Linked DNA regions of Homo sapiens: regions 1 and 3 are each linked to region 2. Evidence: promoter capture Hi-C in 16 types of primary human blood cells and fetal thymus (Javierre and others, 2016). All regions are on one chromosome and are shown on one strand. The core of a region is centred on a gene start or on the middle of the fragment in contact, and the rest is flanking DNA. Distances in the headings are between cores, read along the strand shown.

The links. Contacts are between HindIII fragments. The CHiCAGO score rates a contact against its expected background, and 5 or more counts as called.
Region 1: a contact is called between a fragment that was not itself captured here and the fragment with the promoter of DDB1 in region 2, in 3 of 17 cell types (total CD4 T cells, activated CD4 T cells and non-activated CD4 T cells). The highest score is 6.4, in total CD4 T cells.
Region 3: a fragment that was not itself captured here is called in contact with the fragment with the promoter of DDB1 in region 2 in 3 of 17 cell types (total CD8 T cells, naive CD4 T cells and non-activated CD4 T cells); the score reaches 7.2 in total CD8 T cells.

The regions. Positions count from the first base shown.
Region 1 is chr11:60,895,824-60,898,523 of GRCh38, reverse strand. PRPF19 (pre-mRNA processing factor 19) reads left to right here. Exons shown (of 16, transcript NM_014502.5): 14 at 253-423; 15 at 573-678. Among named protein-coding and RNA genes, the nearest start is that of PRPF19, 9.4 kb to the left of the region's middle. The HindIII fragment of the contact is 613 bases long and covers 1,061-1,673 here.
Region 2 is chr11:61,331,672-61,334,371 of GRCh38, reverse strand. DDB1 (damage specific DNA binding protein 1) reads left to right here and starts at 1,267. Exons shown (of 27, transcript NM_001923.5): 1 at 1,267-1,464; 2 at 2,681-2,700. The coding sequence starts at 1,404. It overlaps TKFC (triokinase and FMN cyclase), which reads right to left and starts at 1,144. Exons shown (of 18, transcript NM_015533.4): 1 at 1,043-1,144. RefSeq lists enhancers at 660-1,182, 1,183-1,705 and a silencer at 1,005-1,264. The HindIII fragment of the contact is 9,653 bases long and covers 1-2,109 here.
Region 3 is chr11:60,919,029-60,921,728 of GRCh38, reverse strand. It overlaps TMEM109 (transmembrane protein 109), which reads right to left. Exons shown (of 4, transcript NM_024092.3): 2 at 1,799-2,043; 3 at 741-843. The coding sequence starts at 2,035. It overlaps LOC124902676 (a long non-coding RNA gene), which reads left to right. Exons shown (of 2, transcript XR_007062688.1): 2 at 2,576-2,700. Among named protein-coding and RNA genes, the nearest start is that of TMEM132A, 4.1 kb to the left of the region's middle. RefSeq lists an enhancer at 1,693-2,700. The HindIII fragment of the contact is 2,902 bases long and covers 1-2,700 here.

The DNA of each region.
Region 1 (2,700 bases), core at 118-2,617, 440 kb after region 2:
TCCATCTGAGGCCCAGGGCCAGAGGGAGTGTTTGTGACAATGCAGTGCTAATTAGGTGCTTGTGGCACCTGGCCCTGAAGGTGGAGAGACACTGGCTGTGCGTGTGTGATATGATGGTGTGGTCTGGGGGGTCCCGCTGGCTGTCCTTCCTGGAAGGACGTGAGGGACATCTCAGGTAGGAGTTTGGTGAGCCCCATTTTCTTCCTCTCATGATCTGTGGGTGACGTATTTTACTACCCACCGCCACTGTAGGAACGTACTAATGTGGCCAACTTCCCTGGCCACTCGGGCCCCATCACTAGCATCGCCTTCTCTGAGAATGGTTACTACCTGGCTACAGCGGCTGATGACTCCTCTGTCAAGCTCTGGGATCTGCGCAAGCTTAAGAACTTTAAGACTTTGCAGCTGGATAACAACTTTGAGGTGTGCCCTTCCCCCTCCGCCCAGCTTTCCATTGTGTCTCCTTGTTTGTCAATTATTTATTGAATTAATCTAATTGCTTCTGCTTATCCGCAACTGCCCCATAGTTTCTGTTCCCCTTGTGTGACCTTCTCTCTTTCTATTTCTGGCAGGTAAAGTCACTGATCTTTGACCAGAGTGGTACCTACCTGGCTCTTGGGGGCACGGATGTCCAGATCTACATCTGCAAACAATGGACGGAGATTCTTCACTTTACAGGTAGAGGCTGGTCCTGGGCTCCTGGGATCTCTCTAGGTGCCCAGGCCCGGAGGGAAGCCTCACTGGGTTAGGAATTTCTAGGGCTTGCATGAATTTACCTAAGCAGCTTTCTGTTACCACCTGAGGCAGAGCTTTATGACTAAGGAAGCAACTGAGTCAGACTGCATGGCAGTAGATGCTAGTGCTTGTTCTGCCACTTCCATGCCCTGTGGCATTGGGCAGGTTACTAAAGGGAGAGAAAAGTCCCTCTGAAGTTTTGATAACTGAATCTAAAATAAATGAACATTAGACAGTGACAGGAGGAGAGCCATTTTAATTACGTGCATATGCACGGGAGGCCCACATTATATTAGATCTGCAGAAGGGTCAGATGATTGAAGCTTATACAGTTTATATATCACTTAATAATGGGGATATGTTCTGAGAAATGTCTTGTTAGGTGATATCGTCATGTGCGACCATTGTAGAGTGAACTTACATATATCTAAATGGTGTAGCCTACTACACGCCAAGACTATTGCTATAACCTTAGTATAGTCTATTATTGCTCCTAGGCTACAAACCGGTACAGCATATTAAATGTAGTGAATACAATTATAACACAATGGTAAGTATTTGTGTATCTAAACAAGTGTAAACATAGAAAAGGTTCAGTAAAAATAAGGTATAAGAGATTTTTTTAAAATGGTACACTGGTATAGTGCTTGCCATGAAAGGAGCTTGCAGGACTGGAAGTTGCTTTCAGTGAGTGAGTTGTGAGTGAATGTGAAGGCCTAGGACATTACTGTACGCTGCTGTAGACTTTATAAACACAGTACACTTAGGTTTTACTAAATTCATAAAAAACTTTTTCTTCAGTAATAAGCCTTAGCTGACTTTTACTTTATAAACTTAAAAAAATGGATTCTTTTGTAATAACATTTAACTTAAAACTAAAACACATTGTACAGCTGTACAAAAATATTGTCTCTCTTTACATCCTTGTTCTATAAGCTTTTTTCTAATTTTTTTATTTTTATTTTTTACTTTTTAAACTTTTCTTGTTAAAAACTAAGACACAAGCACACATTACCCTAGGCCTACACAGGATCAGGATCACCAACTGTATTAGTCCGTTCTCACACTGCTATGAAGAACTGCCTGGGTAATTGATAAGGGAAAGAGGTTTAATTGACTCACAGTGACTCGGGAGGCCTCAGGAAACTTACAGTCATAGCAGCAGGGAAAGCAAACATGTCTTTCTTTACATGGCAACAGGAGAGACAAATGCTGAGCAAAGGGGCTAAAGCCCCTCATAAAACCATCAGATCTCGTGAGAACTCACTATCATGAGAACAGCATGGGGGTAACCACCCCCATGATTCAGTTACTTCCCACTGGCTCCCTCCCACAACACGTGGGGATTATGGGCACTACAATTCAAGATGAGATTTGGGTGGCGGCACAAAGCCTAACCATAGCACCAACATCACTGTCTTCTACCTCCACATCTTTTCCCACCGGAAGGTCTTCGGGGGCACCAACATGCATAAACCTGTCATCTCCTATGATGATAATGCCTTCTTCTCGGATACCTCCTGAAAGGGCCTGCTTGGTGCTGTTTTACAGTTAACTTTTTTTTATAAGTGGGAAGAGTATATTTAATACCAAAAAAAGTATAGTATAGGCATACCTTGTCTTATTGCACTTAGCTTTATTGTATTTTATGGATACTTTGCTTTTTATAAATTGAAGGTTTTTGGCAACCTTGCCCCAAGCAAGTCTGTCAGTACCATTTTTCCAACAACATGTGTTCACTTTGTGTCTGTGTGTCAAATTTTGGTAATTCTTACAGTATTTCAAACTTCTTCATGATTTATTGTGTCCGTTAGTGATCTTTGATGTTGCTATTGTAATTGTTGGGCGGGGGGGCACCATGAAATGTGCCCATAAAAGTTACTGAATTTATTTGATAAATGAAATGCTGTGTGTGTTCTGACCACTCCACCCACCAGCCGTTCCCCATCTCTCTCCCTCTCAGAC
Region 2 (2,700 bases), core at 18-2,517:
TCATCACTAAAGGACAGTGATCCTCAGAATAACTATCTTTTACACGGGCATCACATGCAGCGAAAAAGTTAACAAAGCTCGTCACACGCTTGCCCTCACTGGCCTTGGCACCAAAAGGGAAGGGAATGGGGGGAGCTAGCCAGGTTTGTGACCCATTTTACTTCTGGGAAACAGACTCAGAGAGCTCTAGGGACTTGTCCAAGGTAATACAGGTAACAGCCAGAATCTAAACCAATGTCTAGTTTTTCTACAGAGTGTGTTTTTACTACTGATAATTCAGTGCCTCCAAAGTCAGGCAGAGTCTCTGCTATGGGAAAGGCAAGATGTAAACCACGATGACTTTCTAGCTTTTCCTCAGTTCAGCCTGGTTCAGCAGCGTGTTGGCCTCTGTGTGGGTGCACAATAGGAAGAATCAACATAGCTCTGCCTCAGCCTACTTGGGGTTGTGGGGAGGGTCTTAGGTAAACCAATTCCTCCCTAAGCCTCAGCTTCCTCATCTGTAAAATGGGGGTTGGCTCCTCTCTGGCATTCTGCGAGTGTGCCAAGCCACGTGGTATTCCTCTTGTTCCCGGGGAGCCTGTTTGATGTGGGGTACCCTGGAGGCTGCAGGGCTGACGGCTCTCCTGGCTCATTAAGGTTCCCTACGGAGAAATACTGGTTTTGTGTTTGAGGTTCGAATTTGTAGAGCAATAGGGGCACTAATAACGTTGGGCAAGCAGACCGGTGGGCCCTTTGAAGTCTGAAGAATCAACGCGCAAAAGGGAGGAGGTGAGCAGGTGGTCGTTCAAACGTCAGGCGAGGGCACCAGCTGGATCTGGAGGAACTGAGACAGTGAAAGGAAAGCAGGCAAGGTTCTAGTCTGGGATATGCACGAATCGCGGTCTCCCTTCCCTCTCTATGCCTCCGCAGTCCTTCCCGTTCCCAAAGGAGGAACAGCCCGAGGGCTCCTGGAGCAACGGAAGGAGGACTGGATGCGGGGAAGGGCAAAGGGCGCGGAACGGGGTGGGGAGTCTGCGGGCGAGCTCGGAGGACACTGGCGCACCTCCCCCGCCGGCTCACGGCCGCATCCGCCACATCCGAAGGCGCCGCGACTTCCCGGAGACCCCGAAGCGTGCGCTCTCATCCGGGTCCTGCGGGCGCTGGCGGAAAGAGGCGAGGCGGTGCCTCCGGGGGCGGGGCCTCCTTCGGTTGGCGGCCTCGGGCTTCGGGAGTCCTCCAAGAGGCCAGGTGAGGCCGTCCCGTGATGCCCCGCGCCCCGGCCGCTCTGGCCTGCAACGTGTCTCTGGGGCGGAGGCAGCGGCAGTGGAGTTCGCTGCGCGCTGTTGGGGGCCACCTGTCTTTTCGCTTGTGTCCCTCTTTCTAGTGTCGCGCTCGAGTCCCGACGGGCCGCTCCAAGCCTCGACATGTCGTACAACTACGTGGTAACGGCCCAGAAGCCCACCGCCGTGAACGGCTGCGTGACCGGTGAGGCTGCCGGGGCCGGAGACCCCGGCGAGTGAGGGAGTTGGGGGGAGCCGCGGCCTAGGGAGGCCCGCCGCCCCGGGGGCGGCCGGGCAGGAGTGGGCCCGGCGAATGGAAGGCGCTGGCGGCCGAGGAACCTCCCCCAGCACCGCGACCTCGAAAGAGTCGTCCCTGTACGCGCTTTTTGGGGGTTGGAAGCCGCTCTCGAGGGTCCCCTTTCGTCCTGGGGAGGTCATTCGGCCTCGAGAACAGGGCGGGCCCAGTGAGACAGAGGAGTGTGAGTTGGTTGTGCGGTGTCGTTTGGGCCCGGAGATTGGCTTTCTGTGGCCAGGAAAAGGGGAGGTGGTAATGACGACTTTGGGGTCAAGATTTTCCTGTGGGGAAGTCTGGGGGGCCCAGGAGGTGGAGGGATGTGAGGAATGCCCGCATTATCCCACAGAGGGAGAGGAGCCCTCTTCAGGCTAACCCCTTTGCCTGGGGCTGTTGTTTACATGAGGGCCCTGCTGGAGAAGAGGGTTTGGTTTGCCTGGCCCAGTGCTGGGTTTGCCTTGTTGACGATGCGCTTGGATTGTTAAGGACACCGATGTTCAGAACCCGGGAAGAGTCATCTTAACCCACATTCTCAGCTGAATATGCAGACCCCAAGCTTGCATGTTTATATACACCCTAATCATGATTCCAAAACAAAACTGTTGTTCAGAGTTGGAGGTAGCTGAGTGTGGATGGAGGTATTGGTAGACTGCCAGGAGGGCAGGGGGTGTGGACAAAACAGTGTTTTCATATAAAGCTCTGGGACTTCTTCATTTGACTTGGTCTGTCAGATAAAAGTTTTGTGAGACTTTAGATGAAGACTGGAAGAAGTGAACACTTTCTCCGGCATTCTCAATTAGAGCCTGCCACTGTAACTGTAATAGAGTAAAATTGGAGGGGCAAGAGGCATGAGAAGGGATTACGCAGTCATTGTCATTTGGAGGACACACGGCTCTTAGGTCCAGTCCAGTTTTCTTAGTCTGATTAGGGAAGTAGCTTTGTTGAATGCATGAACTGAGACTCTTTGAGGTGCCGGATTTGGCAAGAAGGGGAGTAGCTGGAGGGAGTTGGAGAAGTATGTGAAGTAAATGAGAATTCTGGAGGTATTTAGACATAAGTGATAGGATTATTTTGAAGGGATGGGAGGCCCTTCCCCTGAGTTCAAAAGTTAGAGGGTCTGTTCTTTCAGGACACTTTACTTCGGCCGAA
Region 3 (2,700 bases), core at 7-2,506, 410 kb after region 2:
TGAGGGGAGAGCGGGGCAAGAGCTAAAAGGGTGGGAGGTGCTAGGCACATTGCAAAGGAATAAGCCGTTCTCGCAGACTCAGAGTGATATGGGTTGGAATCTCAGCTCTGTTTCTTGCTGGCTGTGAGGCCTGGAGTAGATTACTTGCTTCTGTTGAGCTGCAGTTTCATTTACTAAACGGGAACAATTCTACTGCCTCCCTGTACTGTGGCTGGCAATTAAATGAGATACTACAGCTCAGCACGATGCCTGATAGGAAGTGAACAACTGGCACGTGGTGGCGGAAGTTCTTTTTTAGGGGGTCTGGGTGGGACAGGGTTTTGCTCCATCGCCGAGGCTGGAGTGCAGTGACGTGATCCCGGCTCACTGCAACCTCTACCTCCTGGGCTCAAGCGATCCTCCCACCTCAGCTCCCAAGTAGCTGGGACAACAGACACACGCCACCATGCTTGGCTAATTTTTTATAGAGACGAGGTCTCATTATATTGCCCAGGCTGGTCTCAAACTTCTGGCCTCAAGTGACCCTCCTGCCTTGACCTCCCAAAGTGCTGGGATTACAGGCGGGAGCCACCACACCTGGCCATGGTAGTTCTTGGCTTGCTCTTTGGCCATGTCTCTGCAGAATCCTGGGAAGGGTTAAGCAGCTTGGGGAAAAGGCTAGACCCTGACAAAGATGAACTCCCACAAGTAGGAAAGTACAGGCAAAGCTCTGGCTGACTACCCAGCACTCGAACACTCACCAGCTAGTCCCAAGGCATTCAGCAGCTGTGCGGCGATCCCAGACAGAGCAAAGAAGGCCACAGAAATGGCTGATGAGATGGCCCACAACACTTGGGACGAAGACTGTGGAAAGAGCACGGAGCGAGATGAGTTCATAATGAACAACGGTCCTCGCCTTCACGCCTGATCACCACTGTCCAGGCAAGAACTGCAGGAATGTCTCAGACCTGTTTCTCACCCAGTGGTGACAGGCCTGGGTCAGAGGGTAGGGGCCTTGGGCCTGGCTGAGGGGTCCCTTCCACATCCACCTTCTAGTCTACAGGGATGGCCAACAGGCTGTCTCTCCTTCCTGAACTGGAAACTAGGGCATCTGGGACATAATTTAACTGCTTTGCTGGGATACTTTGGAGGGAGTAGTAGGTGTACTTGTGTGTGAATGACGGAGACAATCAAATACTTTTAGTAGTCACCCTATAAAACTGGAGGCCTGCTAGCTGTCCAGGGAGTCATGAAGGTGCGTGGAGAACATCTGTAAAGGGATAGGATGTTCCAGTGAAAAAGGAGTCTATCAGCTATACTATATTATGGATTTAATAAATGATTGTCTCAGCCCTTCAGTCCAGCCTATCAAAAGTATGTGATACCATGCTTGGGATGCCACCAGGTAAAAAAAGATAACCCTGCCTTAGGCTCCCAATAAGCTCAACCCACTTCTGCAGGTGAAGGAATGGATTCAGGACTTGATATTTTGCCATTTCGAGATTCTAGGTCAGATTTAGACCAAAGTGAGACTCTACAGTCACCCAGTAACATGGGCTTATAAAGATGGCTCATTTCCCAGCCTTTCTGGCAAGGAAAGGGCAGGAGCCAGGAAAGGATAGGGGTGGAGCTAAAAGGCCCTAGGACAGCAATCAAATAACGAGGAATTCAAAGACAAGTGCTGTGTGGCTTCTTTTTGTGGAATTTGGGGCTCTCTGCACCAGAGAGGATGTGGAACTAAGATGAGGTGGCCATTACCAACCTTTCTTCTTTTATTTTTCCTTAATGTGTGTAGTCACACAGGGACTACCTTCCTTACCTCTGACACCAGGTGCATGGTCTCTGGCCCAATCCAGGCATCCAGTGTCCCTCGCACAGATCGACCTATCTGGGTCAAGACATCAACTGGGGCTTCTCTCTTCTGTTGGCCTGGTGGTGCAAAGTCTCGACGGGACTGGGCCAATGCTGAGTGGAGGAGGATAAGGGCCACTAGGACCATCAGAATGGCTTTGAACACATGCTTTCCCCATGGTGAACTGATGCTGGAGGCTGCCATGACTGGGTCTGCCAGGAGAGAAGCACAGTGAGCTGAGTGCCATGGTAGACACACTCACCCTCTCAGCTCTGATTATCCCAACATCCTTCTCCACCCCTACCCCAAGCAAGCACCAAACTAACCCTGGAAAGAAAGTGCTGTTAGCTGGGAGAGGAAGGACTGGGACTTCCAACTGAAGCTGGGCACAACCATCTGACTCACAGGTTCCTCTTTCACATTCTTTACCACTTGCATATTAATTAACCAGCAAGTATTATTCAACACTTTAGAGTTGGCGAGAAGATCTCTCTAAGGTTTGTGCCAGTTCTAAAAATCTGAAGGCCTGTCCCTGTATCTTAGGTGCTATAGGCATAAAAGTATTATAAGACTCTATAAAGGCTCTGTCCCAAGGAGCTTATAATCTACTTAAGATACAGCTGGTATAAAAAACAACTTAAAAATAGCACACAAGTAGGATTACTGCCATATAATGGTATAAAGAAAAGTGCTCAGTTATGTGCTCAAACAAGAATAACTGCACATATGTCATCTTCTCTGCAGGACCATCATGTGAGGTGGCTTTTATCCTCCTCGCCCCTACTGGTACAGACGAGAAGAAACTGTGACTCAGAAGTTAAGCATTTTCCCATGGTCACTGGGCTACACAGAAAGGCCAGGATTTGAAC